Regions from separate parts of the Homo sapiens genome. Here all the other regions are linked to region 3. Evidence: promoter capture Hi-C in 16 types of primary human blood cells and fetal thymus (Javierre and others, 2016). All regions are on one chromosome and are shown on one strand. The core of a region is centred on a gene start or on the middle of the fragment in contact, and the rest is flanking DNA. Distances in the headings are between cores, read along the strand shown. Region 1 overlaps SDCCAG8 (SHH signaling and ciliogenesis regulator SDCCAG8). Region 2 overlaps AKT3 (AKT serine/threonine kinase 3). Region 3 holds the start of ZBTB18 (zinc finger and BTB domain containing 18). Region 4 holds the start of LOC124904569 (a long non-coding RNA gene).

Region 1 (7,161 bases), core at 1,795-4,294, 630 kb before region 3:
GATAAATTATTGTTTTTGCCCCCACTGCTAGCATGATCCTAGTGATCAGAGTCTTGGGCAGAATCTAAGCACTAGATTAGAATGTATTTAACTGTTAAAACCGCCTTAAGAACATTTCCTTTTGTCTTGTACACACATACACAAAATCACACTGTTTTCAATTTCTTTGACCAGATCTCCATTGAAGCTCATGCTGTTGACAATGAAATTAAAATTCTAAAGAAAATACACATTTTTACCTTCATAATTAGAGAAGTGTATGCAAGATTGGGGGTGGTGGTGGTAGTAAACCATGTGTGCAAATATGAAACAAAGCATGAATTACAGTGTAGAAGAGAATTCCTCGATGATTTTAGTTTTGAGTTATCTGGTTGTGATAATTTTTGACACTCTGTTTATAGTAAAATTGTCAAAATAAAAATATAATATCTTGCATATTGCAAAGATATAAGCATCTATTCTTCCACTTGAGGTATTTGACACTTTATTAACATGTTAAAATGTTACACCAAGCTGGTATGATGAAAAATGTTTCTGGTGTATAATTATGTTGAAAATAAATGACTCCCAAGATTGAGTGTCTTTCCAGATGATAAGTCCTTTGACTTAGGACATTGAAGGTGATCTAGTGGCTTATTGGAAATGTGTAGGGGTCTAAGCACTTTACCACTCTATGTATGGAAGCACTGCAGAGCGACAACCATAAACATCTTATGTTGGTGGGGGTTTATTGTTATTTCTAGAAAATGAACAGTATTTGTTGCTGACCTCCCAGAATACATTTTTGACAAAGTTAAAGGAAGAATGCTGTACATTAGCCAAGAAACTGGAACAAATCTCTCAAAAAACCAGGTAGGTGATGTTATAGAATACTTTCAAGAGCACTGTTTGTGTGATTACTCTAATTTTTCCTTAAAAAACATCATTTGCACTGTTTTATAGTCTAATGTCAAAATTAGGTATCTGCTGATGTTTTCTTTGAAAATATTTTCTACATATGGACATTTTCTTAATTGTCTATACGCTTTTATGTTTTTTCATGGTTATGTGTATGTACTATTATTTGACATTTCAATGTTTAGAATTGAAAACTGTGAAATTTCAGGAAAGAAGGATCAATATGGTAATAACATAAACATGCAGATAAATCAAGCAGTTATAAAATCTTACATAGGTATGGTTAACACATTTTAATCTATTGTTACAATTCACCATGAACACAAAAGCTGTCTTTAGGTTAAATGATAACAGATGAAATGTGTATATATAAAAATGAAAGTAGATGGTACTTTGAAATAAATAAACCAAAACTATTCTTCCCTTCTCCTAAAATTGTTATATTTTAATAGAACAGCCATCATTCATTTTATAGCATACTACTCTTTTATAAATCCATTGATTGGAATCTTAATGACTTTTTTCTATACACTTTCTAGTCAGATTATCTCAATGAATAAATTATTTCATATTCTAAACTGCAAGAAGCCCGACTCCCCATCTCAGCTCCGACAGTAACTGAATAATCTTGGACAAATGTATTTGACCTACTTGGACTATAGTTTCTTCTTTTGTAAATGAAAGACATTGGACAGAATCACTTTAAATTGAACTATAGAAGGCAATATTCACATAACTGATAAGATGTCAAATACTACTTTATATGATAACTCAATGAAAAAATTGCCTGTGTGTCTTCTTTTCTGCATTTTTCTGAAACTCACATAGATCTATTGAGAGCAGGAAATATGGCTCAGCAAACAAACTACTGACCTAGATGTTTCATTCGGGAAGGATTTCTGGGAGTATCAGGGCATATCTGATCACTCTGAGCTCCATCTTGGAATCCTGCATCAACAAGCTGTCTTAGCTGATAGAACCCCCATCCCTGAATCTTTTGGGGAATCAGAGGGCTCGTGCATCCAACTCTCCCTGCTCACCAGGAAGGCAGAGGCTCCTGTAACCACCAAGAATGTACTCTGACATGCGCACCTTCCTAGCGTATACTAAGATTGTATTTTGGTAGGGGAAAACCTAGGTGCCAAAATACCAGATATTTCAAGGAAATTTGACCAAGAAAACCAAATGATTTTGTCATGAAAGAGACCCATAAAATATCAACAGTAGCTATTCTTAACCAGAAATACTTGATTTGCACCACATAGATCCAAAAGTAATTTGTTAGAAGCAAACAAACAAGATTGTATCATTTAGGGATAAAATGATATCAATCTGGGTTTTATATAAATGTATTAGGTCTAAAATTGGTTTGTGAATGATTAGTGATCTTGCTCTCCAAGGAGACCTAATTAGGGAAATTTATTATATAAAAGAGACAAAAAGGTGCTTGGTATGTTATTTAATTCTCACCACAACTTGAGGCAGGAATTATTATCTTCCAGATAAGGAAACCAAAACTGTTTAAATAACTGGTGAGTGGGAGAGCTACGGTTCTAACATAGGTATTTCTGGTTCCAAAGTATACGTTCTTTCTTATGGTAATTACAGTATTTTACATCTATTGCTAAAGAAAATTCAAGCCACAGTAGTTATGATGAGAAAGTTTGGGAAGGAAAAATTCACCTTTAAATTTCCGTGGAGAAGTAAGCGTCCTTGGCATGTAACGGTTAACTTACTCTGTGCCCCTAGGCCCTCTTTTTCCTCCTCTAGATCTGTCATCTTAGCCTGTACTGGTCTAACTCAGAACCTCTATTGCTCCTCCTGCTTCTCATTCCTCCAGCTCCTGAACAGTACTTTGTAAATTGGATGTATTCTTTTGTATCTGACATAGATGGCATTTAATGAATAAATGATGAATGAATGAAACAAATAGGTGTGGTGCTATTCGCACCTCCTGATCTGACTTCTGATGCCAGTCTGTCCCATTGTTGATGGCTGACAGTGTGCAGTAAAGAACACATGGCAATTCAGAGGAACTAGGTTTGAATCTCACTCTCCCACTTGGAGCTTTGTAACCTTGGGTACATGGCCTCATTTCCCCAAACCTCAGCTTCTCCTTCTGTAAAAACATTTCTAAAGCCACACTGCAGGATTGTTATGGGAATTAGAATTGTGTATATAGATACGCATACATACACGTATCAAGTGCCTAGCACAGTGCCTGACACATAGTAATACACAGTAGCTGCTATTATTTTCACTGGTGGCATTTTTAAGGGTCTTGACTGGTAATTTGGGTATCACTTTACATAGCTATTGTCTTTGCCAGGGAAAGTCTGACTGTCATTTTCCGACGGACATAAGTCTATGCCACAATGAAAGCCTTTTTAAAACAGCCAGATCAGGAAAATGTGGATCTAGTTGTATTTTGTAACTCTGATGAATTAAAGCAGGCACCTACTCTAAGTTTACAATTTGACTCAACCAAGGCCTGGCAAGTAGTAAACACTTGATAAATTGTTACTTACTATTTTTAAAACTCTCAAGCGCCCCTAAAACTTACGAAAAGTGCATTTTGTGTGCCTCACAAGAAGGTAGTGAATAGGACAAATTTTGATTTTAGGGTTGTTTGTTCTTAATTTCTTTTAGTTCCAGTTTCATTTCTCCCTGGCTTCTTACTATGACATTTTCAATAACTCATTCATGTTAAGTTTTACATTCCATTTTGATGTTACCTTCTGCTTTGAAACCACCTATAAAACTTGAAGGGCTTAAACTGCTTCTTTTAAAATACAAATTATTAATGTAGTAAACTCTGAAGAAGCCCTCCAGGAGTGTGCCTCTGCATACCCCATGCCAAACTATTGGGATAAATAATTTTCCCTGTGCTTTGAGGTAAGGAAAATCTTGGAGTTTCTAAAGTTTTGTCATTGTGGAAACTCAGTCTCCAAATTTATACTTATGCAATCCATATGGTAATTTTGGTCCAGCTTTTCCTCAGAGTATTACAGTAAAATTCTTCTTGAAAAGTAAGTGTATTTATTTTGTATTGAGCAATAATTAAGACATATTTTTCCTTCCTCTGTTACTAGCAACATTACTCTAAGAGTCTTGTTTTTCAAAATACCAACTAAACAAATAGATTCCTACCATTTAAAACAAGATTTTAAACTCACAGATCTAGTCATTTGACTGAAGCCCATGCAGAATGACGGGAAAGCTGAGAGCATGGGCTCGGCGTGCACGTACGCCCTTACTCTCTGCCCCAGCTTCATGCTAGGCTGCTCTGTTGCTCTGTGAAAATGTTTTGAAATGGTACCTCCGTGTGTGTGTCTGTTGTATGTGTTTTCTCCCCAAGGAGACCGTAAGTCGCATTATGGCAGTGACGACTGCTTCTGTTTTCTGGAAGCCTCCATAGTGATTAGCACAGTAGTTTGCGCGCTCTGTGTACTCCACACTGCACGTAGTGGTGTCTGTAACCCCGGGGTTTGTGAATGGCACGTCCCATTTTAAAACTTAAAATGAACTGCCGATTCTGTGCATGTTGTATAGCTTGTTTTTGACCATCAGGCAAGAGAATTAATTCCATTTTGCTTTTAATTGGCACCAGGCAGACATTCTGGCTGATTTTAGTTGAAGCTCACATAAACTTTCGCTATCCTTCCTTCTGTATTCCCCAGTACTCTGAGAGCTTATTATAGTTATGGGGTTGTTTTTTGAAGGAGGTAAACGGAGCTATTTAAATATCTTCGGTACAACTGTGATTTTTCTTTATCAAAGTGAAGGAAGTGTTCTCTCTCCCCACGCGCTTAGATGAATCAGCAGTAAAACGTTGCAGTGCGGTTTGCAGTGCTATCTAACACCTGGCCTGGGAGAGCTGGAAGGATTGGGTGCTGGCAGGGAGTGAGCCTCTGCCAGCCACAGAGTGGAGAGAAGTGTGTGCTAGGTTTTAGCTTCCACCTCTTGCACACTGAAAAGAACAGGATAGAGCATAGAACCAGGGTCTATGTGGTTTTGCTTCTTTCTTTTCTGTCATTGTCACTTTCTGGGTTGTGAGGCTTGTGGACTGATGTCTAACACTGCCCATTGTGTATTTGTGATTTGCGTTTTGTAATTAAGAGGAACAATGGGAGTCCATGGGGTCTCGTTATATATAATGGTTGGTTTAATTTGTTTCACTTCTATCTTGTTAATTGTAAATTGATCATTAAGATTTGAATTCTAATCTGTCACCAGGGTTGTGAGTATTGAGGCTAGAGCAATGATCCCGGTTTTAATCACTGATGATGAGAAACAAATTTTATAATTTTGGTACATATTGCAGTTCATATATTTTAACACTATACTTTATGGTGTTATAAATATTGTTAAATGACTTTTAGTGTAGTTTTACTGTGTGGACTATAATGTGTAAATTATATTACTGTTTTGGCAACAGTAGGTATCCAACTGTGTGAGTTTAATTGAGGTGAAGAACACACACCCGGTTGAACTGTTTTTTTCCTTTGCATGTTTAGATGATGTTAGGTTGGGATACTATAAAAATTATATTTTCTACAAGAGGAGACTGATATTGGCCTCTGCTAATTGTTACCAAAAGTCAAACTAGAACCTAAAAGAATAAAAAATTAAGATATTGTATTTCCCTTTGAAAGCAATTATCATTTTAATCCGAATTATAGTAGTAAAATATATTTCATGCAAATGCAATTATGCAACATAACTGGTATATAAAAATACAGGGGAAAGTTCATGCTTCTGTAAAGCCAGAAATTGCCTGAATTTTCTATGAAAATGGATTAGAGTCAATTATCCTTTTATATGACACAGGATAATCATGCCAGAAATGTATCTCCTAACTAACAGAAAACTTGTAAGTTTACTCTTTGAGCTTTGCAAACTACTAGTTCTAGGAACATATCGTGAGCTGCAGACAGAAAAAGGATGATGTGCAGGCATATATGTCAAATTTTTATTGAAAAATGGAAGTTGGTAGGCAAATTACAATTATAAACAAAGAAAAAAACAAAAATGTGAAGCAGAAAAAAAGATTGTTGCAATACACACTTGATAGTGATGTGTACTTTATAAATAACATTTATATTTTTGGGATTATGTAAGACATCCTCAATGCAGGGAATTTGGAAAATACAAAGAAGAATTAAGGAAAATTTCCTGTGCCACTACCAGCTAGAGATAACTATTCTTACCTCTGATATATTTCCCTTCAGTCATTTTTCATGTGTATGTCTGTGTACATTTATAGTGTGATTGAGATTATACCGTATATACAGTTTTGCGTCTGCTTTTTCATTTGATATCTAATGAACATTTTTCTATATCAGTAAATACTCTGAAAACAAAACTTTATTAAATGATTTGCGTGTATAAGAATTATTAGGCTTTTAAGATGCTTCCAATTTTTAACCGTTTATGAATAATAATACAACAAAAACTTTGTACCTAAATCTAAATTTTTGATTGTTTCCTTAATTGCTGGTCCAAGACGATTAATCCTTTTAAGGGTGTTGATGTGTTTTACCTTGCTGAAGTACTACACTAACTTCTAATAACTGTATATGTAGCCATATTAGTAAATAACATTACAAAGAAGTGAGATTTTTTTAAAAAAGCATGAGAGGCAATATTGCACAGGTGGGTGGAACCACCCCTTTAGAGGTGGACTAAGTAATATCTGGGCTTGACTACTTGGATGACCTTAGGCAAATTATTCAACTTCATGTTTACCTCACAGAGAAAAGAAAAGAAACCCTTACAAGTACCTTATAGGATTAATTGAGATCATGAATGTAAAGGATGGATTTCACTGTTTGTTATACGGTGGCATGCAGTAAATATTTGGTGGTAGTATCTGGTTTTGTTGTGCTATTTTTTGAATAATAGTGAAATTGAATATGTTATAAATGGTATTGATCATTTGTGTTTCTTCTGTAGATATTTTCAATATTTCTTATACTTTTTAATTGGAATTTTGATGGAGAGTGCAGTTAGTGTTTCATTAAATTATGCTTTTAATGTTTGTCTTATTTTTGTAAATAATTTCCTGTTGTTTACATTGATTTTAATTAATAAGCTTTATTTTTTAGAGCAGTTTTAGGTTCACAGCAAAACTGGACAGAAAGTACAGAACTCCCATATATTCCCTGTTCCTTCCACACACAACCTCCCCCACCAGTGACATCTACATTTTGTTTTATTATGATTTTTTTCAAAATCAGAATGAATTTATTTAAAACAAATAAA
Region 2 (6,622 bases), core at 3,003-5,502, 550 kb before region 3:
CTTTATTTAAGCTGTCTGTACGAAGGAAAATCATGTTCATCCCTATCATATACGTGTAAAAATACTAAGGATGTACAGTGTACAAAAACAGTTTCTCCTAGTTATTCCACATCCTTGTGGGTCATATACTTCAGGAAATAGACAGGTTTAGTATGACCAACAGTAATAGTAATACAGTTTCTTGGGTTTATAGTTGCATCTGCTTAAAATCCTTAACCAGATGACTAGATCTTGCGCAGATCTAATGAAAGAACTAGCAAGGTCAAGAAATGTCACAAACTATAAAGCTACAGGGAGGTAATTCAATTACCAATTTAGAGGTTTTCTTTTTATTTAAATAAATACTTTACATTTCATGCTTGCCTGTAATGCACTACCAGGAGCAAGATAAGGAAATTCTACTGTAGACAGTACAAACAGTAGCAGCAAAGTGTGTATGTTGAGGTGTAATAGAGAGACCCTGCAGTTAGTAAGGAAGGCCCTTACTTTTGTACTCTAGGAGAAGCAAGTGGCCCCTGCAAGAACAGTCAGCTTTAAGAAGCTGGAAATCAGGGATGGGAAATGGAAAACAATACTTGAATAATGCTATGTAATTAGTGTAGAAAGCAAAGCTGAGCGCGACCCTGCCAACCATCTAAGCAGAAATGGCCAATTTCCTCCAAGATGGCTGCATTATGACAAGAAGTCAAGCTTCATGACAGTTAGTATGGGCTGGAGTCTGCAAAGTCTGAACTGTATTCTCATAGAATGATTCCAGGTTTCAGGGTGTTCCACCTGCCAGAACCCAAAACTACAACTATGGGCGACACAAGGGAAGTTTTAGAAATCTCCCTCTACACGCATTTCTGGTTTTCTATTATTCCTCCATGGCAGCTGACAGATCTGGAAGTGAAAATAGGGGATTCTCAAAATCAAAGCCAAGAAGACACCTTGTGTGACACCAATGGAGTCTCAGAGGGTGGAATAGAAGTGACTGAGCCCCAGGCATGGCTGGGAACTGAGAGCCAGTGTGAGGAGTGGCCCGCCTGGGGCAATGTCAGTGCCAGTCATTAATCTTTAAGAAGTGTCCTTGGCCAAGGTCATGGGAATCACTTTAAGATTTGCGGGAGAAAAAACCAAAACAACAAAAAGCTGTGTGCTTAGTGTTCGGTGTCATGCTTTCCCTCTAGAGGAGTAAGTGCTCTGAACATCAGCCAGTCTCAGCTTTCTGCTCTTCCTCTCACCTGTTTCTTTCTTATATAATGGATGCAAGACAACTTAAAGAACATACCTTCTAGTCTACTTTTTTGTCAAAATGAAACATTCAACATAATTCCAAGTGAAAAAAAAAAGATTAGCTATGTGTGTAAGTAAGAATGAACTACCATTTACTGTAACTTCCTACTCAATACTAAGGATGAACTTCACTCAGGTAGAAATATGAAAAAGAAGGATAACGTTGATGTCTGAATATGTCTTAGCTGCCTTAGTAAAATGCCCTTTAACCCCCGTCAGTCCCAGTGGCCCACCCACTGCCAGCAGTGGTTTCATAGCTATAAATCCACACTTCCAGCGTCAAGAGGCTAAGACATCTGCATATGAATATGATTCATCCTACTTAGAAAGTCACTTGCTCTTTCATACAATGCAATCATAATACTACGTCATGCTGTAGTCTTCCGTTTGGGAGCTGTCAGAGTTTAACTAAAATACATTTCCATGATCACTCCGCGGAGTAGGATGGCCTTCTGCTTGCCGCAAGAGTGGCCCCCAGCCCCTAGGACTTCACAGGCTGCTTTGGAAATTGTCAGCTCCTAGCACCAAAGGGTTTAATCTGAAGATCATCATTAATGAAGGAGAAAGATGAGGTTTGCATACATGCCCCCTTTCAGTGAGAAATGTTGGAATCTGGGGGACATGAGTATATACAGAAAAAGAAAAGCTGGAGGTGTTCTCTTTTTTTGTTGTTTTTTCCCTGATGGCTTAATTCAGTGATAAATGTACCATGATCCCAAGAAACACACCAGGTTCTTAGCCTTCACTGCCCATTTCCTAAATACTCAAGATGTGTTCATTTTGCCACGTAAAGATCATTTCTTATCTTCACTCAGGTCTCAATTTTCTTCATTACTTTTTGTTGCCAGGTCATCATAACGTTTCAAATTCTTAAATGAGCAAACGTCAACAGCTATTTGTTTCATTAACCCCTTGGCATGCATAGTTGGGGATTTTCTCATTTTCAGTACCAAGGGGTTAAATGGCAGCATCTCTTCTCCCAAAGCCAAATTCTAACCAATATATTCCATTTCAGAGCCTTATCATTTTTTTTAACAGAGGAGAAAAAGTGCATGATTCTCATCAGCGTGTACAATCCTTGCACATGGGTCAAAAGTAACTGCAGTAAGTCTATTTTATATAAGTTGGAGCTGCGTTTGCTAACATGACATACAATTCTCATCACTAAAAAATAAATACTACTGCAATATAAACAAAATCATAAAAGGACATTCAAAGTTTCAACATCTGAGAAAAAGCTAATTCACGTAGAACTGAAAGTAAAAAATTAAATAAGGCAAACACCTGTTTACCTTGGTGTAGAAATTTTGGTGAAAAGCAGTATCATTATACCTGTCTACATTCTTCAGCCATCAGAGGTGATAAATGTCAAGAAGGAAAAAAGGTTTCCAAGCACAGGGGAAAGATGCTCTCTGGCTCAAATTGTTTCATAAGACCCTTTAAGTGACCTTGACTGTGCATATGCCTTCAGTTCTTGGTAGAACAGTGTTCACTTGCTCATGATTGCCCGTGAAGTCTCGACATCCACATGTGATATGGGCTTCTTCTACAGTATCCACCAGGAATTTAAAAAAAAAAAATTATATATATATATATATATCCCAACAGTTGTTCAGTCCTTCTACCAAATGCTTCCTAATCAATTCCAGCCACAGCTTAGTGATATATGCCTACTTCACGCACGGATCTGATGTGCTTTACATATGCACGCCACCACCCTTCCACAATTGCTTGTTCTGAATTTATAAACTAAATCTTCTTAGTCTAGTTAGTTTTTCTCTTCTAGAAAGTTAAAAAATGTACCTAGAATCAGTGTATCTCATTTAGCCTTCACTGAGGGAAAAACTAAAAGATCAAAAGATGATAATTGGTGCACAAATGAACAATGGTGGGCTCATGACTTCCAAAGGTTGGAAAATTACTTCTTAAAGTTGCTATAATAGTAAGACAGTAGCAGCAACAGCATGAGACCTTAGACTGAGATACAATTTCATGCAAAAACAAAAACTGGAGTGTATTTGCGTGTATGTGTGTTTTCATGAGGGTGAAAGGTGGCGAGGGGTGAGGACCCTTGGCTGGTCTGGGATGTCGGAAGGTGCCCCTGCTATGTGTAAGAGCTAGGACTGGTGATGTCCAGGAATCATTTTCAGTAATAAATTGAAGATGACAGTGAAGTAGCAGAATGAAAGAGACTTATTCTCGTCCACTTGCAGAGTAGGAAAATTGAGGGAAATGCGGCCGCCTCTCATTGTCCATGCAGTCCATACCATCCTCATCATCTGTGGGCAGGAAACATCTATTTTAATTTTACACATTCATTTTTTGCAACATTATCTCTAGTCTATGTTTTTTAAACTCTGAACATAGGAAAGATGAACAGAGGCAATAGCTCCCATAAACTTGTGTTCATCAATAAGCTGTAGAGTAATTATACTTCAAAAATCATCTGATTTTCATAAATACATAGTCTATGAAGAAATAATACTATAGAATCATCTCTAAGACATCAAAATTTCAAGACTCAATGAAACAGTGAAAAAAATGGTATTGAAGAAAACAGAAGTTTTTAAGAAGGAGCAGTCTTCAGTAACCTTTCATTTCATGTAACCACATATATCAAAACTGCAAGTCAGTGAAATCCACAGCATCCAAAGTCTGTATAGAATTCATCATCGAATGTCTTCAAGTGCTTATATTTTTTCTTTGTGATGCTTTAAGTGCAACTGCAAAATAAAGCTTCTTATGAAATTTCATTCAACATCTAGCATCTGGCTTAACTCACCTTTCCCAATTTCCCTATGATAAAACTTTAGCATGAAGGGACTAAGTGAAAGAAAAAGAGGGAAGGATGTCAACATCTGAGTCCTAGCTCATCAGGAAACAATGGAAGAGACTTGAAAGGCATCAAAACAGGCCGCTGACAATCACAGTGTTCCTCCTGTCAGCTTTCCTGGTTTCCTGTATTTCAAAGATCACAGATGATCAGCACCCTGTTCTCATAAATGTCCTGTGATGACAGTCCTGTGCTGTTGGAAGCTCTTCCTGGTATGTGGCCACGTGGTCAGCCACTCAGTCAACATGCGCTCCCACGCATCTGCTCTGGGCTGAGCACCCGTCAGGCCCAAGGACCGCAGAACTTTGAACAAAGTCCCAAGGGCCCCCTGGCCTCACAGTCTCCTGGGGGAGGTGCTCCATTTTAAATCCCCCGTGCTTGCCTCTAAGCTTGTTTAATCATATGCTGTCCTGCAATGGAAATCAGTGAATCTTTCCAATACTCAACCCTTTTCTCTTCAAGCAAAATAATTCGATGTCCTCAAACCCATATAGGAAGTACATTACCAATTTTTTTGAATATTCTAACCTCTCCAGGGAGCATCCGCTGGATGTGGGTGTAAACAAAGAAAGCATACAGGCCAGATCCCACTGCACTGAGGCTCTGACTCTGTCACTCCGAAGAGGAGGGGGCTCTGCCTTTGTCTGAAGAATAAACACTTCCATTCTTGTATCACTGTTTTTCTTTTCTGTATCCCACTCTTAATGCAGAAGATTCTAGAAATGGGATCAAGCTGGCATTAGCCAAAATTTCTGACCCCTAATGTACCAGAAGATATCCTCGTATTAGGTGAGAACTGATCCATCAAGAAGCATTTGTGGCTCCCTGCTCTGTGTAAGACACTGAACTCGGAGGCCCTCTCTTCTTCTGCAAATAGACCACTGTAACTGCAGTCAGCATTTCTAGAAGGTATTGAGATTTGGGGAAATCTCTACCTCCTTATAAAGTTATTGGTTCCAATATTTGTACCAAGCAAGTCACACACATCTTTTAGATCAAATACCTTCAGCAGTATTTTTAGCTACAGTAAAAACGGAAGGAGCTGGGAATGATGGTGTACCCGTGGTTGAGCCCCAGAGTATAAAAACTCTCTAGAGAATACGGGCAGCTAAAACCTTAATGTTCAGATTCTGACATGAGCCAATCACATTTCAAATAAACAATTTTCCTCACCAACAGCTTTATTTTACTCAGTGTTTCTGCACAGCAAACCTGCAGCTGGCTCTGGACAGCAGTGGGGAGCCTGGTGCTTGTCCTGCTCAGCCAGGAAGGGCAGGAGCTGCCTGGACTCCTGGGGCCATGGCCAGGACTCATTCCAGCCCGGCGAGGTTCAGCACCCAGGTTAGCCAGATGCTCAACAGGGGCAGGTGCTAGACACCCTTTTGGAAGAGGAGGGACTCTTGCTGGTGTCAGCTAAGAATTGAGAGACAGCCTTCATTCTGTCACTTCAGTAACACATTCATCACAATTCTGAATCTAGGAAATTTCACAGATATCCCTGAGGGCCCCAATCCTTGATATTCTTTAAAGCCAATGATCTCCCTCCATCATTCCTGCCCCTTTCTGTTGTCAGGCTTGGAAACAATGAGGCGTGAACATCTGATCATGGCCCTAAAAGAGCTGAGAGCCTGGGCAGGGGCTGCGGTGGGAGGGGAGCTGGAGGAAGTGGCAGCTGACTCTGAGTCGGAGCCTGTCAATGTACACAAGTTAGTTCCTGCTGTGAGAGGCTGTGCATAGGGAATAGTGATGATAATGAACATGAACTATGTTTTTCAAAAACACTTATCTGGAAAAAGAAGACAATGATCAACTCTACTTGCTACATCCCTTGAATCCCTGCATCCAAGGAACATCAGTTGCCTGATTTTCTTAGAACATTTAACAAATGGCATTATATGGCAGTAAAAGCGACCAGATCTCAAAGAAACCCTCTTTTTCTGTAAGAGGAAGGAGGAGGACCATCAATGGCGATAACGAAAGATGACACATTCCCAAATCTGTTCCATTATTAACGCCAGTGAGGACAATCTGGCATGTCACTGCAGCTGTTTGTAGAAAATGGAACATTTTGCCTTTCTAACTGCTGATTTGTTCTAAACAATAACTGTATTCTGTTTTATACAAGCAAGGTGGCAAGTGGGAAGACAATTGCTAACGAATGGTACTACCCTGGACTTTTATCAACAAAACCTCTGTGTGTTAGCACTTAGGGAGCTGCAACGGTTTCTTACCAGTTAAACTATTCAAAGCTGCAAGAAAAAGGTTATGTTGAATGTAATCACCGTTCAAGGTTTCAGTGATTCTCATTTTATCTGCTCCTTAAGGGAATCTAGGATGTATCCAGGAACTGTCAAACTAAAAATACTGCCCCGTTGCCCTAGAAGAACCCAGAAGCTGCAGTTAACCACCATCAAGGCTGCTCCCCTAAGACAGGAAGCCCAGGGCCCCATGGCCCCCAGTGCTGAGCGCTGCGCTCTGCTGAGCCACACAGACAGCAGGAGAGGCTGCTGAACA
Region 3 (7,089 bases), core at 3,165-5,664:
ATTTATTCCTTACCTTGAAACAGGTCAGACTGAAATTGGGCCTTCTACCACTAGACTGAAAAGACCTAGAATTCATCGACAGCACAGATACAACAAAAGCCTTCATGGAATACAAAAACTCCAATTTTCATAGGATATCCTTGACCTCAGTGATGAATCATGAGGGCGTAGAGGGTTGAGAAAAAAGTAGGCACATCACTACTGTTTCTAACCAGATATCTCGAAGCTATTTCAGTTCCAGGAATTCTGTCTGCTCCTGTTTTTACTTCATTAGCAATTCAACATGTCTGATTTGCCCACACAATACTTTCCAGCTACTTTACCCATTTGACCTGGAACAAAGTGAAAGCACATTTTGCCCAGTTGAAAGGTCTCCTGGCAGGTTGGTTAGCAACAGGCTTGCCAGTCTGGGTTCTGTTAGCAAAGAATAAACACATTTCATTAGACAATGACTAGTGGACTGACTTCCTCACTATGAAGTTGTTTTTTTTTTTCTATTTTATTTTCTTCAGCCATTCCCCCTCCCCCACCACTTGTTATTCAACTTTTTACTTGTAATTCTTGCCTCGATACGATTTCCAATTTCTTGACGGCAGACATTTCCACGTCTTTGTGGCTGTGATTAACGCAGTCTAATTGCCAAGAACAGGTACCGAGTAAAAGTTTATTTGAAGGAAAGAAAAGCGACACAGCAGTCTTACATCGTCCCTCGGTAGTTTAAAGTTGTGGCTAGATACGTATCAATTAAGGAATCAAGCTGAGGCATCTGCAAGTACCAATTTTACTGTAATGCTCTAAAATTTGGTCACTTGGGGAAGTCTTTACTTGTAACAGTGTAAGTACACAAGGGACAGGAGGGTTTTGCGAGAAAGGCGGGCGCTCTGCCCTGTTCTGCCCGTGACATGATGACGTAAGAACGACTCCCAGAAACTGCCTGAGTCGCCTGCGTCCCCAGCTCCCCGATGTGCACCTGGGCGCGGGACGCCGCAGGACGGAGCGAGAGCGCTCCTCGGTCCCGCTCCCCTGCGCACGGGCCGGCGAGGACCCGGGCGTCTTCACCCCCACAGGAAGGAGCAGAGAGAGCCACCCGAAGTCGGCCTCGAGTCATCCGTGTCCCCGGGTGCCCTGCCTCTCCAGGATACCTGCGTAACTCGCAGCAGCCAAGCCCCACTACGTTCAAAAGTGTGTTTGTGGTTGTCACAGTGCACACCGAAAAGCTCGCTCCGCACCCGCAGAGTGCGCGGGGCCTCTGAGCCTGGAAACAAGCCCCTCCCAGCGCAGCTGTCGCCGCCGCCTGCGGGCTCCTTTCACTTTCTCACGGCCAAGTCACCCAGAGGGGCGCCGCTGCTGCCACCGCCGCTGCGCCCGAGGACTCCGCCCCGCGCCGCTTCGCTCCGGATCCCCGCCCGCCCGAGCCCCGCCCACCCCAACAGTTGCTGCCTGCGATTGGAACGCGCGGGAGGGCAGCTACGGCTCGCCACCCCCATTGGCTGGGCCCCCTTGTCAGTCCGACGACTGCCCACCACCCCCTCCGCCTTCCCGAAGAGCCGCCTTCCCATTGGAGGAGTCTGAGGGCTGGGGGCGGGCGGGGAGCGCCGGTCCAGCCGCTTTCGGTCAATCGCAGAAGCCCAACGCCCGGAGGGAGGGAGGCAGGGGAAGGAGAGGGGCGGACTGAGGGTGGGGGGAACATCTGGCCGGCGCCGCCGCGTGCGTGCGTGGTGCGTCCTCCCGCCCCCTCCCCTCCCCCTCCCCCGCGCCCGCCCCCCCCCCGCCCCCGCCCCCCCACCCGGCCCGGCGGCTCCGCGCTCGCTCCCTCGCTCGCTCCCTCGCTGTGTCTGGCAGGCTGCGGCCGCCGCTGGGCTGCTGCCATGGGGAGCCGTTGAGAGTGGGGCCCTCTTCGCTCCGCCGCGCTCCTCCGGCTGCCAGCGGGGGTGGGCGGGAGGGAGGGGCGGGGGGGAGCGGGCGACGGAGCCGGGATTGGGGGGTGGGGGGGCCGGGAGGGAGGGGGGCAAGAGCCGGAGGAAGCCCACCAAGTCCGGCGGCGGCGGCGGCGGCCGGGAGGAGGAGGAGGAGGAGGCGGAGGACGCGGCGGCGGCGGGGACGCGGTGACTTAGGGCCGCTCCGTGTGAGTCCCGGCGCCGGCCCCTGGCCCCTGACCTGGCGCCCCCTCCGCGCCCCGGCACCCCGGCGGGCGGGGGGCGCCAGCTGTGCGGCCCCGGCCGGCTGGGCGGCGCGGGCGGAGGGCGGGCCGGGTCGGGGGCGCCCCCGCGAGTGGAGTTAGTTTGTGTGGTTGGAGCTGTTGGGGCGGCGGGGGGCGGCGCAGCTGCGGGAGGCCCGGGCGCGGGGACGGGGCCGCTGCAGCTGCGGGGTCGGGCGGGGTGCGGGTTCCCGGCTCCGCGCCGCGCCCCCGCGGGCCGGTGCAGCTGCGGCGCGGGGCGGGCTCCCGGCCGGTGCAGCTGCGGTGGCGCCTCTCGGGTGCGGAGGGCGGCGGGCTGGGGGAGGGGGCTTGGGAGCAGCCGCAGCTGCAGTGGCGCCCGGGACGGCCGCGGCTCCGGGGACCGGTGCAGCTGCAGTGGCGCCCGGGGGAGGGGGCCGGCGGGGGAGGGGGCCCTCCCGGGCTGGTGCAGTTGCCCGGAGGCCCCGGGGGCTCGCGCGTCGCGGCATCGGGGAAGCGGTAGCAACCACTCTCCTCCCGCTGGCTGCTTCTTACGACTTTTCTTTTGTTGTTGCCGTGACCCGGGTCTGTTTTCTCCTCTGTTGTTTAAGGTGTTTTCCTGCTGCACCGGCTCTGCGCCCTCCACCTCCTTCCCTGTGGTTTTAACCTTCCTCTTTCCCCGTGTGTTTTATGCACGGCGAACTACGTAAAGATTTGCATTGCTTCCCCACTCGGCACCCCCGCCCCCACCTCTCTGAAAAACAAAACCCCAACCTCACAAAACCTCTATGGATCCGCGGTAGCGAGACGTGAAGGGGTTGATTTGTGGAGTGGGAGTTGCTGGCCCATTGCGGTGCCCGGGACTCATTAAACTGTCACTCACCCCCCACCCCACTGGGTAAATGGGGTGATTAATGTCTGATATATTGGAATGGGTCGAGGGCATTTGTGGAGAATAGGTGGTGTGGCTGGGAAGAAATTGATCTCCCGAGGATGTCTCCTGGACTAAGTGTTCATAATTATGTCACTCACCGCGAAGTTGGAGAAAGTTAGGTTTGTGACTTTGGGAAAGCGAGAAGGACAGGACGGAGTCGTCGGGTTTTGTTACTCTTTAACTCTCCGCCACGGCTTTCTAATGGGAACGAAGTGGTTATCACCAGGGCTGGGACGCTGGCGCCTCAGGCCCCAGTTCCTTTTCTACCCCTCGCCCTCCCAAGAGTCTGAGGAGATGTATTTGACATTCAGAGATGTCGCAGCACCCTGCCCGGTACCGGTCAGCCCAGCCCGGGTCGCGTTACAGTTTCATCAGCTATTAGAAAAGACCCACAAACTGGCTGAAAAGTTCTCAAACTTACTAGACCTGGCTTCCCCCCACACAAAGATTTTCTTGTGATCATAAACATTAGAGTGACCCCCCCCCAAAGAAAAAAAAGATTGTTAAGGGACACAGATCAAGGGGAAGGCAAGGTTCTGCTTTTTCTGAGCAGAAAGATCAGATATGCAGGTGCAGCATTCATTTTAAGTGACTGGAGCAGGTTGTATCAGTTTATTAATTGGTCTCGTTGAACTGAAGTACTTTCCAGGATTTCAGAAAGTGCAGTTTCAGCTTGTTGGTACCGAGAATTGAAATTTGCATTGACTGTGGCAGTGTAAGAAATTTTTCTGAGAAGGTAGTTGTAGATAAGTAATTACATAAGAGTGAAATAATAAGGTGAACCAGTCTGAAGTAATAGTTCTGAACAAGTCTGCCAACATTTGAGACATGTATACCATTATCTCAGCAGAAAAAAATAAAAAAGTGCGGTAATAATGTTGAAATGGGACTGGAGATGTCAAATGGGTTGGTTTAAAAATATCCCTAAACTGCTTTAGAAACTAAACGTTGGAGTTGAATAAAAGTGAATCTGGATTTCCTGAATAGCACCGTGGCTTGAGTGTGCTGTCAGTATGTAAGCCAGTCCACCAACTTAAGACAGAAGTGTTGCTATTCCATAAATACAGTAGAACTCCATATGCTGAGTTTTTCAATTTCTTCTGTTAGAAAGTTTGGAAAAAAAGGAAGACTTTGAAGTATTTTGTTTATACTAACAGAAGAGAAAAGTTCTCCTAAGAAAAAGCTGGTGGCAGGAGTGTAGAGGAGTAGCATATGGCATTAAAAGGAGCACAGCTGGAGGTAGCATTTCCATCTGAACATGATGTCAGAGCAGCTGACAGCCTGCCATCCCTCAGCCTTTTATTCTAACACACAGACAGGGAGTTAGTGTGTGCGGATCTGTGGTGGAGAAGGTATCTCATTCCTCTCTAACATCATCTCCACTTTGCATCTGTCTCTCTTAGTCTGCTTTTTTTCCACCGATGTAACAGACCTGGAGCCAGCAGGACTCAGAGGAAAGGACTTAATCAGGTTTATGTGTCCTAAAGGTAGGAGTAGCAAGAGATTAGATTGAGCATATTTCTGTTTTGGTGTTTTGTTTATTTAATTTTAAAAATCACATTACTTTTCTAACCCAGTTTAGGAATAATATATGAAATTGAGTATTAAATGAACATCTTACTGGAGTTGAAAGTCTTGAGCTTGTTTAGTTTTAATTTTTTATCCCTTTTACTTGAGCGAGTAAATAACTTTAATACACAAATATTTCAAGTTTTGAAATGTTAAGAAAGGCTTTAAAATGCTGCTTTTGGAAATCACGTTGGATTAAAATGCTTTTTTGTTGTTCACTGCTATTTAGATTTGATTGGGGTGGTGGTGGTGGGGAAATAGTAAACTGGAATCCAGCATTCAAACTTATATGAGAAGATTATTCTAGTTAAGCAGCTAGATTGTTGTATAATTAATTCCTCTGTGAAACTTTATTCTTCAAAACATTGAGCAGCACTACTGAAACATACAGCTGTAGTGCTGTTGAAACTGCAGGTTTTTAAGAAGAAGAAAAAAAAACCAAACTTTTGTCCCCAGGAGAATAGTTTGACTGGTTTCCTCATTTCTCTTTCAAATATATATTTAAGAGATCTTTTATTTCAGCATAACAATAATTATTTGCAGGAGTTTTTGTGTTAGCGACTAATTTAGAACTTGTAGATTTGAGCTGCCTGAATTGGCCAGACAGCTGTAATCGCACTCCTCTATTCTTAATCTCTTTATCTGGGCAGCAGCTGCCATATGGCCACAGTCAGCTGGATCAGATGTTTATAAGCTTCCTTCTTCGTCCCTCTCTGTCCTCTCAGCCTCCTAATTTGATCACGGCTACCTTGTGAGCTGCCCTCCAATCTTTATTTTTAGCCTTCTCAAGGATTAGGATTGATGTTAGCTGTGGGGCACTTAAAGTGATTGTATTGTAAATCTTAGTTTATTCTAGCAGTGGCATCTTGCAGAATGTGTCTGGGGTTAGGATAAAGTTTTAGTCTGTCTTGGGCAAAGTGTAGAAGAACAAGAAGAAAGGAAGTAATTTCTGAATATTAAATTAAGTGTATCTATTCCCAAAATGCACTTGCTGAGATGGGTGGTGTGGAGGCTTGCTTCTGGTCACAGGAAAGGGGAAGTCGGGTCTTCTTTATTTTTCAGGAGTTTACCCACTGCAGTTGAATTCTGACCCTTTGTACATCTTTGCCTTTCTCCTCCCTCCATTTCACTTTCCCTCATCACAAAACAAGGGCAATGATGAATATTTGCAAGAATAGAAGCTAGTGGGAAAACAGAAATATATCAAATTATATTGAAACAAAGTATTTTCTGTTGGCTGAGGTAAGGCAGAACCAGGAAAAAAAAAAAGGTTCTCTTTTTCTAAAAAGGCTTAAAAAAAAACGTTGAACCTGTAAAGCTTTTGAGTTTTATTTAAGCGCTGTATGCCTTTATTTTTAAAAGTTTGAATTAATTTCAATATGAAACTCATTTTGCCTTGCAACGGATCAAAGTTTAGATGAGAATTTTCGGAGTTCAGTAAAGCCCCTCTGGTTCCTAATATTCTGAAAGTACAGTTTCTACAAAGAAATGTAACTACTTTTTTCTCAGTTCGTTTTGAAAAATCTTTGGATTTGTTCATAGTAAAGATGATCTTTTCCATCTGTTGGTGCAGCTCCTTCTGATCTCGTACATGTGTGCTATACCTGCAAATCTGAAGGCATTAACATCTGTTTTTATACACAGGGCTTTTGTTGTAACACCCTGACTTTAAAAGTAAGTTGTTTGCTAATTTCTGGACTAATTATGCAATTTCATTTTTTTTTCTTGATTCAGCCAAATGTGTGTGTGTGTGTTTAAACTGTGCTTTCTAAGCACAGTCAGGTAGCAAAAGTAATAAAAAGGATGGTTGAACAAGTTTTCTTGTATGTTCCAGGATATGTTTGGGACTTTTCTTTGTTTATTATATGAGTTGTTCCCTTTGAAATTAAAGCTATTTTGTAGGTTTTGTGGGACATAATTTGATAAGTAGAGTTAATTAAATTTCTTCTGGAAGAGATCTAAATTCTTATTCTTAGTGAGAGACTGTAGTTAAAGGAAGGCTTTTAGAACTTGGGTTCAAGGAAGATGGAGATGCGTCGGAAGCTCTTTGGCGGGGGTGAGGAAGTTCAGAAAGTGTGCATTTTCCTTCTGGCATTTAGGTCTTGTCCGTGTGATTTGGTGGTGCTTGGGTCATAAGCCTGATTAAAATTCAGGGACATGTACCACGGCGGCCAAAGCGGAATTAATTTTTTTATATGGGGACTGGAGCGCTGAAAAGTTGTTCCTGACCAGGCTCTAATGAGAAATTCCTCTCTCCCCAGGTTATGAAGACAGTATGGAGTTTCCAGACCATAGTAGACATTTGCTACAGTGTCTGAGCGAGCAGAGACACCAGGGTTTTCTTTGTGACTGCACTGTTCTGGTGGGAGATGCCCAGTTCCGAGCGCACCGAGCTGTACTGGCTTCATGCAGCATGTATTTCCACCTCTTT
Region 4 (6,662 bases), core at 2,655-5,154, 690 kb before region 3:
GCCACTATGCCTGGCTAATTTTTTTTTATTTGTATTTTTAGTAGAGATGGGGTTTCACCGTGTTAGCCAGGATAGTCTCGATCTCTTGAGCTTGTGATCTGCCCACTTCGGCCTCCCAAAATGCTGGGATTACAGGCGTGAGCCCCCATGCCTGGCCAGCAACAGTCTCTTAACTGGGGCTCCCTGCTTCTCCTCATCTAGCCCCTTCACAGCATAAGGGCCAGAGAAAGTCTGTTAAACTTTCATCAGCCAGGTGAGGTAGCTCACTCCTGTAATCCCAGCACTTTGGGAGGCCGAGGCAGGTGAATCAGGAGGTCAGGAGTTCAAGACCAGCCTGGCTAAAATGGTGAAACCCTGTCTCTACTAAAAATATAAAAATTAGCCAGGCACGGTGGCAGGTGCCTATAGTCCCAGCTACTCGGGAGGCTGAGGCAGGAGAATCGTTTGAACCCGGGTGGTGGAGGTTGCGGTGAGCCGGGATTGCGCCACTGCACTCCAGCCTGGGCAATAGAGTGAGACTCCATCTCAAAACAAAACAAAACAAAACAAAAAAACAAACAAAAAACAACCTATGTCTGATCTTGTCACCCTTCTGAAACCATCCAGTGGTTCCTACCTCAGTAGCAGTCAAAGGCAAAGTCAAACAGTGACCCCCTCATGGCACGCATCTGCTGACCTACAACTGGGCAGTGAATATAGACATTTGCATTTACCTGTCTGGAACTTGGTCATTTTCGTTTGGGCCTGTTGTGTCAGCTTGTCCGAGCTCTCTTGGATCCTCTTTTCAACATATTGCCATAATAAATTATTCCTCTCAGGTTTATGTCACTGGTTAGCAAGGTGCTAACCAGTCTGCCCCCACGACCACTTCAGAGCCTTTGGACTTGCTCTTTTCTTCGCCGGGTTCTCTGGGATATCCTGTGGATCACAAAATAACCCTTCAAGTCATCGCTGAAATCATCTGTGTGAGACTTTCCTGACTACCTTGTTTTATGTTGTAAACCAGTTTCCGAGTACTCCTGCCCCCTTTCTGCTTTATTTTACTCCATATCTTACTCATTTGTTTATTATCATCTTTCCTTATCACAACCTTAGCTTCATAAAGTTATGCCCTCTTTATTCATACTCAACACATTTGCGAAAGCAAAACGTGAATTGCATTGCATTGCATTGCTCTTCCATTTAGCAATTTGGAATGGCTTCCCATTTGCATTTAGAAACATGAGTCCAAACTCCTTTCTACAGTTTATAAGGCCCTGCATAATCTCCCCACTGCCTGTCTTTCCACCCTCTTCTCATCCACCCTTCCCCTGTCCATTCAGTGGAGCCTCCGTGGTTTGCCTTTAGCTTCTCAGACATGCCATGGCCTTTGGACAAACATCTTCCACATATATTCTTTCCCACTCTTCCTTTGCTTAACCAGCTCTTTTTCTTTCTTTTGGTTTCCAATTCAATGTCTCTACTTCACTGGCTACTAATGTATACTCTGTTATTCTCTCACAGCACCTCATTCCCCTCCTTCATGGAGCTTATTATAAGTTTTTTATTATTTTATTGTTCATTTGCTTTTAAACAATCAGTTTCTTCCATTAAAATGTAGGTTGTTTGAGGACAGAGACTTTTACTTGTCTTATTCTCTTTTGTATTCAGTGCCCCAGTGCCCTGATTGCAATTAGGGTCACAGTAACTGGATGGATAGGTGGGTGAAGAGATGGCCAAGTGACTGCCTCAAGTAACACAGTAACTGGATGGATAGGTGGGTGAAGAGATGGCCAAGTGACTGCCTCAAGTAACACAGTAACTGGATGGATAGGTGGGTGAAGAGATGGCCAAGTGACTGCCTCAAGTAACACAGTAACTGGATGGATAGGTGGGTCAAGAGATGGCCAAGTGACTGCCTCAAGTAACACAGTAACTGGATGGATAGGTGGGTCAAGAGATGGCCAGTTGACTGCCTCAAGTAACACAGTAACTGGATGGATAGGTGGGTGAAGAGACGGCCAAGTGACTGCCTCAAGTAACACAGTAACTGGATGGATAGGTGGGTCAAGAGATGGCCAAGTGACTGCCTCAAGTAACACAGTAACTGGATGGATAGGTAGGTGAAGAGATGGCCAAGTGACTGCCTCAAGTAAATTTCTCATTTTACTACCCACTACCCAATGAATCTGAACAAGTTACTGAAAATGTGCAAGCTTCAGTTTTCCTCTTTGTAAAATGAGGATAGATACAATGCCTACCTTATAGGATTTTGTAAAATTTTAGGTCATCTATGTTAACCTCATAGTACAATGCATGACATGTAATAATTGCTCAATACACACTAATAATTACTAGTTTTACTAATACTGTGATCCTTAGCTTTTCCACCTTCATCTCTCTCCCATCTGTGTCCCATTTTATCACATTGCTTTCCAGAGTCGTGATGATTACTGAATATGAGACTGCTAGTTTGAACTGCCCAGTGCATAGCAGTGGAGCTATTGCCTAAGCTTATGTTAATCTAGCATCAGAGCCAACTATCATTTGCCTTATTGTTTATCAAATATGTCTCATTGTAAATTCTTATTGAGCTTAAAATTCAATTAAAACCCCTCATGGCACGCATCTGCTGACCTACAACTGGGTGGTGAATATAGACATTTGCATTTACCTGTCTGGAACTTGGTCATTTTCGTTTGGGCCTGTCGTGTCAGCTTGTCCGAGCTCTCTTGGATCCTCTTTTCAACATATTGCCATAATAAATTCTTCCTCTGAGGTTTGTGTCACAGACACATTTGATCAGCACATCGGTGGCATCCTCATTAAAGTCAGTGGTCTAAATAGTATAGCACAGAGAGCATCACAGAGCCTATGACCTGCAGCTTCCTTGTAATTTGATATTTGCTGTTCTGTCTTCCATGTGATTTGTTCTAATTGATGTTTAAGAACCAGATCATGTTTATTTTTCTGTTTAAGAACCAGACCATTGCCTTCTTCAAAATAATTCTAGTCAAATAAAAAAATTATTTTTATGCCTACTGTGTGTAAGTAGCTTGCCTAGATACCGATGAACCATGTGACAGAAGCTTGCCTTGATGGTGGGCAATGAGGAAATCGGGCATGGATGGCTAAGAAATCAAAGTGCCGTTGTAAATATGGAGCAGATTTGTAGTTTGGCAGGATATAAACCCGTGTTGGGAAACTCCCAATGAGAGGTCAAAATTGAAATGGGGCTGTCTGAAATTCCATTTTGTTCATCTAGATAACCTGGATAAATGGGCTAAATTGGAAATTTGAGTCTTAAAATCATTTTTTTGAGATTTCTCCTATTCATTCTATTGACTTACTCTCCATTTTAAAGTCTTTTGTCCTAATCATTTACCCTATATCTCTCTGTTCTATGCCTATTTTATTTTTCTTTATGAAAATGGGTGAAAGCAGGAATTTTGCTAGTTTTCTAATTATCACAGCATATAAATTCAGTAATGTATGTGAAAGTGTTTTCTAAACTATGAAAAGCTGTATACATACATAGGAATAGAATGGATTGTCAATAAATTGAAGAGATGAGTTTACTCCTTTGTATGTGGAAGCTGTTAATTTAAAATAACACACTCAAAATATTAGCTAAAAATCTACTTCACATTTTGGTGCTGCTTGCTAAAATTAGTTAGAAAATATAGGTTATTTTTGAGTTAAAACCAAGTTCAATAAATTCTTAAGTTCCTCAAATAGAATTTTACAGAAATATTTACATAACCCACAGCTAAAGTGAGTTTTCTAAGAACTCCCCATAAGGTGAGATCACGTACACCATGTCTCAGTACAGAAGGATTTTTTTTTCAATCAGTTATGTCTCTATAAATAAACCTAGTTTTGTTGTTAAAATTGCTGTTTCCTCTTCACATAAGAACATGTCATTAATTTTGGTGAAAACCTTCCAACAAAATAAGGTTAAATTGTCCAGTTTTCCAGTGGAAGAGGAATTATTTTGTGTCACCAACAAGCAGAGTAACAGCTTAAAGGTAAGTTGAACACAGACATGCTGTTTGGGTGGTCAGAATATTTTGCATCCAAGCATAAATGTTAGTAAGAGCCTATAGGTGAGAATGCTTTAGGTATGTTTTTAGTAATGCTTTACCTCTGCTACTCTCCTTAGGATTTGGGAACCAGAGCATTCATACTGATGTTCTCTGTAATTAGGTACACCAAGGAGTAACAGAAACTGGGTAGGTAGGTAGGTAGAGAGAGGTGACCTCAGCCAGAGCCGGTGTGTTTGTATAGGCAAGAAGAGGAGCTGTATTCCATGGTCTGAACTATTAAGTGATCCAGACTACAAGAATATGACTTCCTTTTCTCAGTTGTTTGAAGTTCATTTAGCGAAAAATTAAAATACAGTTTCCTATAAAACAAAATCATTTAGTTTGAACTGGAAAAACATTTGAGGTTTTCTTGGTTTGAGAGAAAATAAACATTTTCTTTTGTCCTAGCACCTATACCAAACAGTAATATTGACAAAAACCAAACCTAAGAAAATGCATTTTTTTTCCTCTAAATTAAGAAATAGTATGTATGGCTTTAAGATGCTGCTTAAAAAAAAAGAATAAGTCTTACATTTGTTCTAGTTGTCAGAGATTGACAGAACTAATAAGAGAATAAAAGAGCAAAACGAAAAAGTTCTTGCTGATTAACAGTTGTCTGAGGAGAAACAGACGATATGTTTTCTTTATTGCATTGAAAAGTTAATTATTACCAATAGAAGCTTATTTATGCTTGTAACTGAGTTAGCGTTGTGGCTTGGCATTATTCCACATTTGAAGGGAAATGGGTATCGGCGAAGAGTCTGGAGCTTGAGTTCTAGTACAGTTGAGTGGGCTTAGCGAGTGGTTTAACTTCACTGGATCCCACGTTCCCACCTGTAAAGTGAGGCGATAGATTAAGATGATGACTGAGGTGTCTTGTGTCCCTAACTGCATGTTTTTTTCCTAAAGGCCTATTTTGTTTTTTATGAAACAAAATATTTTATCTTCACAGGGAAGTTTACTCCCAAATGTTTTTGGGACCATTTAGATAGGAGTACACTTTAGAAAAAAATATAAGCAGCACAGTATTTAAAGAACAGAAATTGTATTTGCTAAGTAAATACTGTACATCGAAGTCTTGGAAGTTAGATACAAAATAAGCCAAAAGTTTCATTTTATATTCCCTTTAGCAATCAGAATATTTGATTATTTTCTAGACAGTTTCTGTAAGAGTACCATTTGGTATAAGAGTTTTAATTTGTGATAGTAGAAAAGTAATAAAAATGTGTACACCATCTAAGAGACAAAATAATTTTGCCAAAAATTGCCTTTTGTTCTGGTTAAGAATAAATGGGCCAATTTCTTTTACACAATAATTTTTAGTAGCAGATACCATATCTAAAAAACTATATTTACTATGGCAATAGTAGCAGACTAATTATCCAGCTTTCTTTGGAAATTGTGACTTTTGTAGTTGTCAATACTTTTATATCTACACTGAAAAATTTTTGGCTTTGAAGAGTATGCCTGCATGTATGTTGATTTTCCTGTAATTTTAGTATCTGGGAAAATATTCCATCTGAAGCATATGTAGAAGTATAGAAAATTGTTGAAATTCCATTTTGAAATGACCTTTAGGCTGCTCTTCATTTAAGGTAATAGTGTCAATTTTGAACAAACTGTTTCAAAAACTTTATTTAATTTAGGATTATGAATGGCATCCTTGTTGGTTTTTAAGTATTTTTAACCTCATGATGAGAATCTGAGAGCATTGTAAATACATTTAATAATGAAAAAGATATTTTCTAAACTTGAAGTCAATAATAAACTTCTTGTATTTAAATTGACTTATGAAGTTTTCTTAAGGCAAAATCAGTTATAACTTTATGAATAGCAATATTTTCAGTTCATTTAAATTTATTTTATTTTTATAGATAGTGAAAGCATCTGTATCTTATTTGAAAGTGCCTGTCATTCTCTTATTTATTAAAATTGCTTTAGTGTGGTTTTTATATTTAGTCTTGGTTTTTACTTGTGTTTAGCCATATTTCTACACATAGGGAATGGTGCAGGAGCTACACCACTGTAATTAGTAGTGGGCAATGTGACCAAGTTTTTTTAATCTTATATTTCAATATAATTTCAATGCAATTACTCTATTGAGTAATTAATAACTTTAATGTTTAGACATAAGTGAATATAATTAGCCCAAAATATAACAACATAATGTGAAAATGATGTTTAGACTTCACTTACTGAGTCCTGAAGCCCTAATATTAATACTTATAATTTCCTGCTGTAAATTTTTATGAAAACTAAATAAGAGTATCATAATAATTTCTGTTATTTACTGTAGCCCAGATGATTGTAAATTTGAGGAGGAAATGATGTACCTTAGATGTGTCATTGGACTTGCACTTGTTTTTTATCAAAATGATAGGGAATCAATTAATATTTTAATAGTTACAAAAGAAAGTGAAGAGTGAAATAGCTTGGATATTATTCATATATAGTGTGTATATGTGTGTGCACATATGTATATGTAGGTATATATACATGTATATAAAATTATCTGGCCATCTGGATCATATATATATGTATAATGTCTGGCACATTGCACATAGCAGGCACATAGTATGTGCTCAAAAATATTTATTG

What was found. Contacts are between HindIII fragments. The CHiCAGO score rates a contact against its expected background, and 5 or more counts as called.
Region 1: a contact is called between a fragment that was not itself captured here and the fragment with the promoter of ZBTB18 in region 3, in 1 of 17 cell types (fetal thymus). The highest score is 8.8, in fetal thymus.
Region 2: a fragment that was not itself captured here is called in contact with the fragment with the promoter of ZBTB18 in region 3 in 1 of 17 cell types (fetal thymus); the score reaches 8.9 in fetal thymus.
Region 4: a contact is called between a fragment that was not itself captured here and the fragment with the promoter of ZBTB18 in region 3, in 1 of 17 cell types (endothelial precursors). The highest score is 7.2, in endothelial precursors.

Annotation. Positions count from the first base shown.
Region 1 is chr1:243,417,225-243,424,385 of GRCh38, forward strand. It overlaps SDCCAG8 (SHH signaling and ciliogenesis regulator SDCCAG8), which reads left to right. Exons shown (of 18, transcript NM_006642.5): 15 at 744-852. Among named protein-coding and RNA genes, the nearest start is that of MIR4677, 75 kb to the left of the region's middle. The HindIII fragment of the contact is 7,890 bases long and covers 1-6,989 here.
Region 2 is chr1:243,501,781-243,508,402 of GRCh38, forward strand. It overlaps AKT3 (AKT serine/threonine kinase 3), which reads right to left. Exons shown (of 14, transcript NM_005465.7): 14 at 1-3,554. The coding sequence ends at 3,469. Among named protein-coding and RNA genes, the nearest start is that of MIR4677, 160 kb to the left of the region's middle. The HindIII fragment of the contact is 486 bases long and covers 4,010-4,495 here.
Region 3 is chr1:244,046,869-244,053,957 of GRCh38, forward strand. It overlaps ZBTB18 (zinc finger and BTB domain containing 18), which reads left to right and starts at 4,415. Exons shown (of 2, transcript NM_205768.3): 1 at 4,415-4,576; 2 at 6,920-7,089. The coding sequence starts at 4,564. It overlaps LINC02774 (long intergenic non-protein coding RNA 2774), which reads left to right. Exons shown (of 12, transcript NR_033883.1): 12 at 24-449. It overlaps LOC124904570 (a long non-coding RNA gene), which reads right to left and starts at 1,373. Exons shown (of 2, transcript XR_007066975.1): 1 at 1,143-1,373; 2 at 1-729. RefSeq lists enhancers at 1,054-1,213, 3,424-3,473, 5,190-5,691 and silencers at 1,384-1,503, 3,654-3,743. The HindIII fragment of the contact is 5,583 bases long and covers 1-5,350 here.
Region 4 is chr1:243,360,295-243,366,956 of GRCh38, forward strand. The region is part of intron 12 of SDCCAG8 (SHH signaling and ciliogenesis regulator SDCCAG8); the gene reads left to right. LOC124904569 (a long non-coding RNA gene) reads left to right here and starts at 498. Exons shown (of 2, transcript XR_007066974.1): 1 at 498-1,984; 2 at 2,099-3,870. The HindIII fragment of the contact is 1,676 bases long and covers 3,067-4,742 here.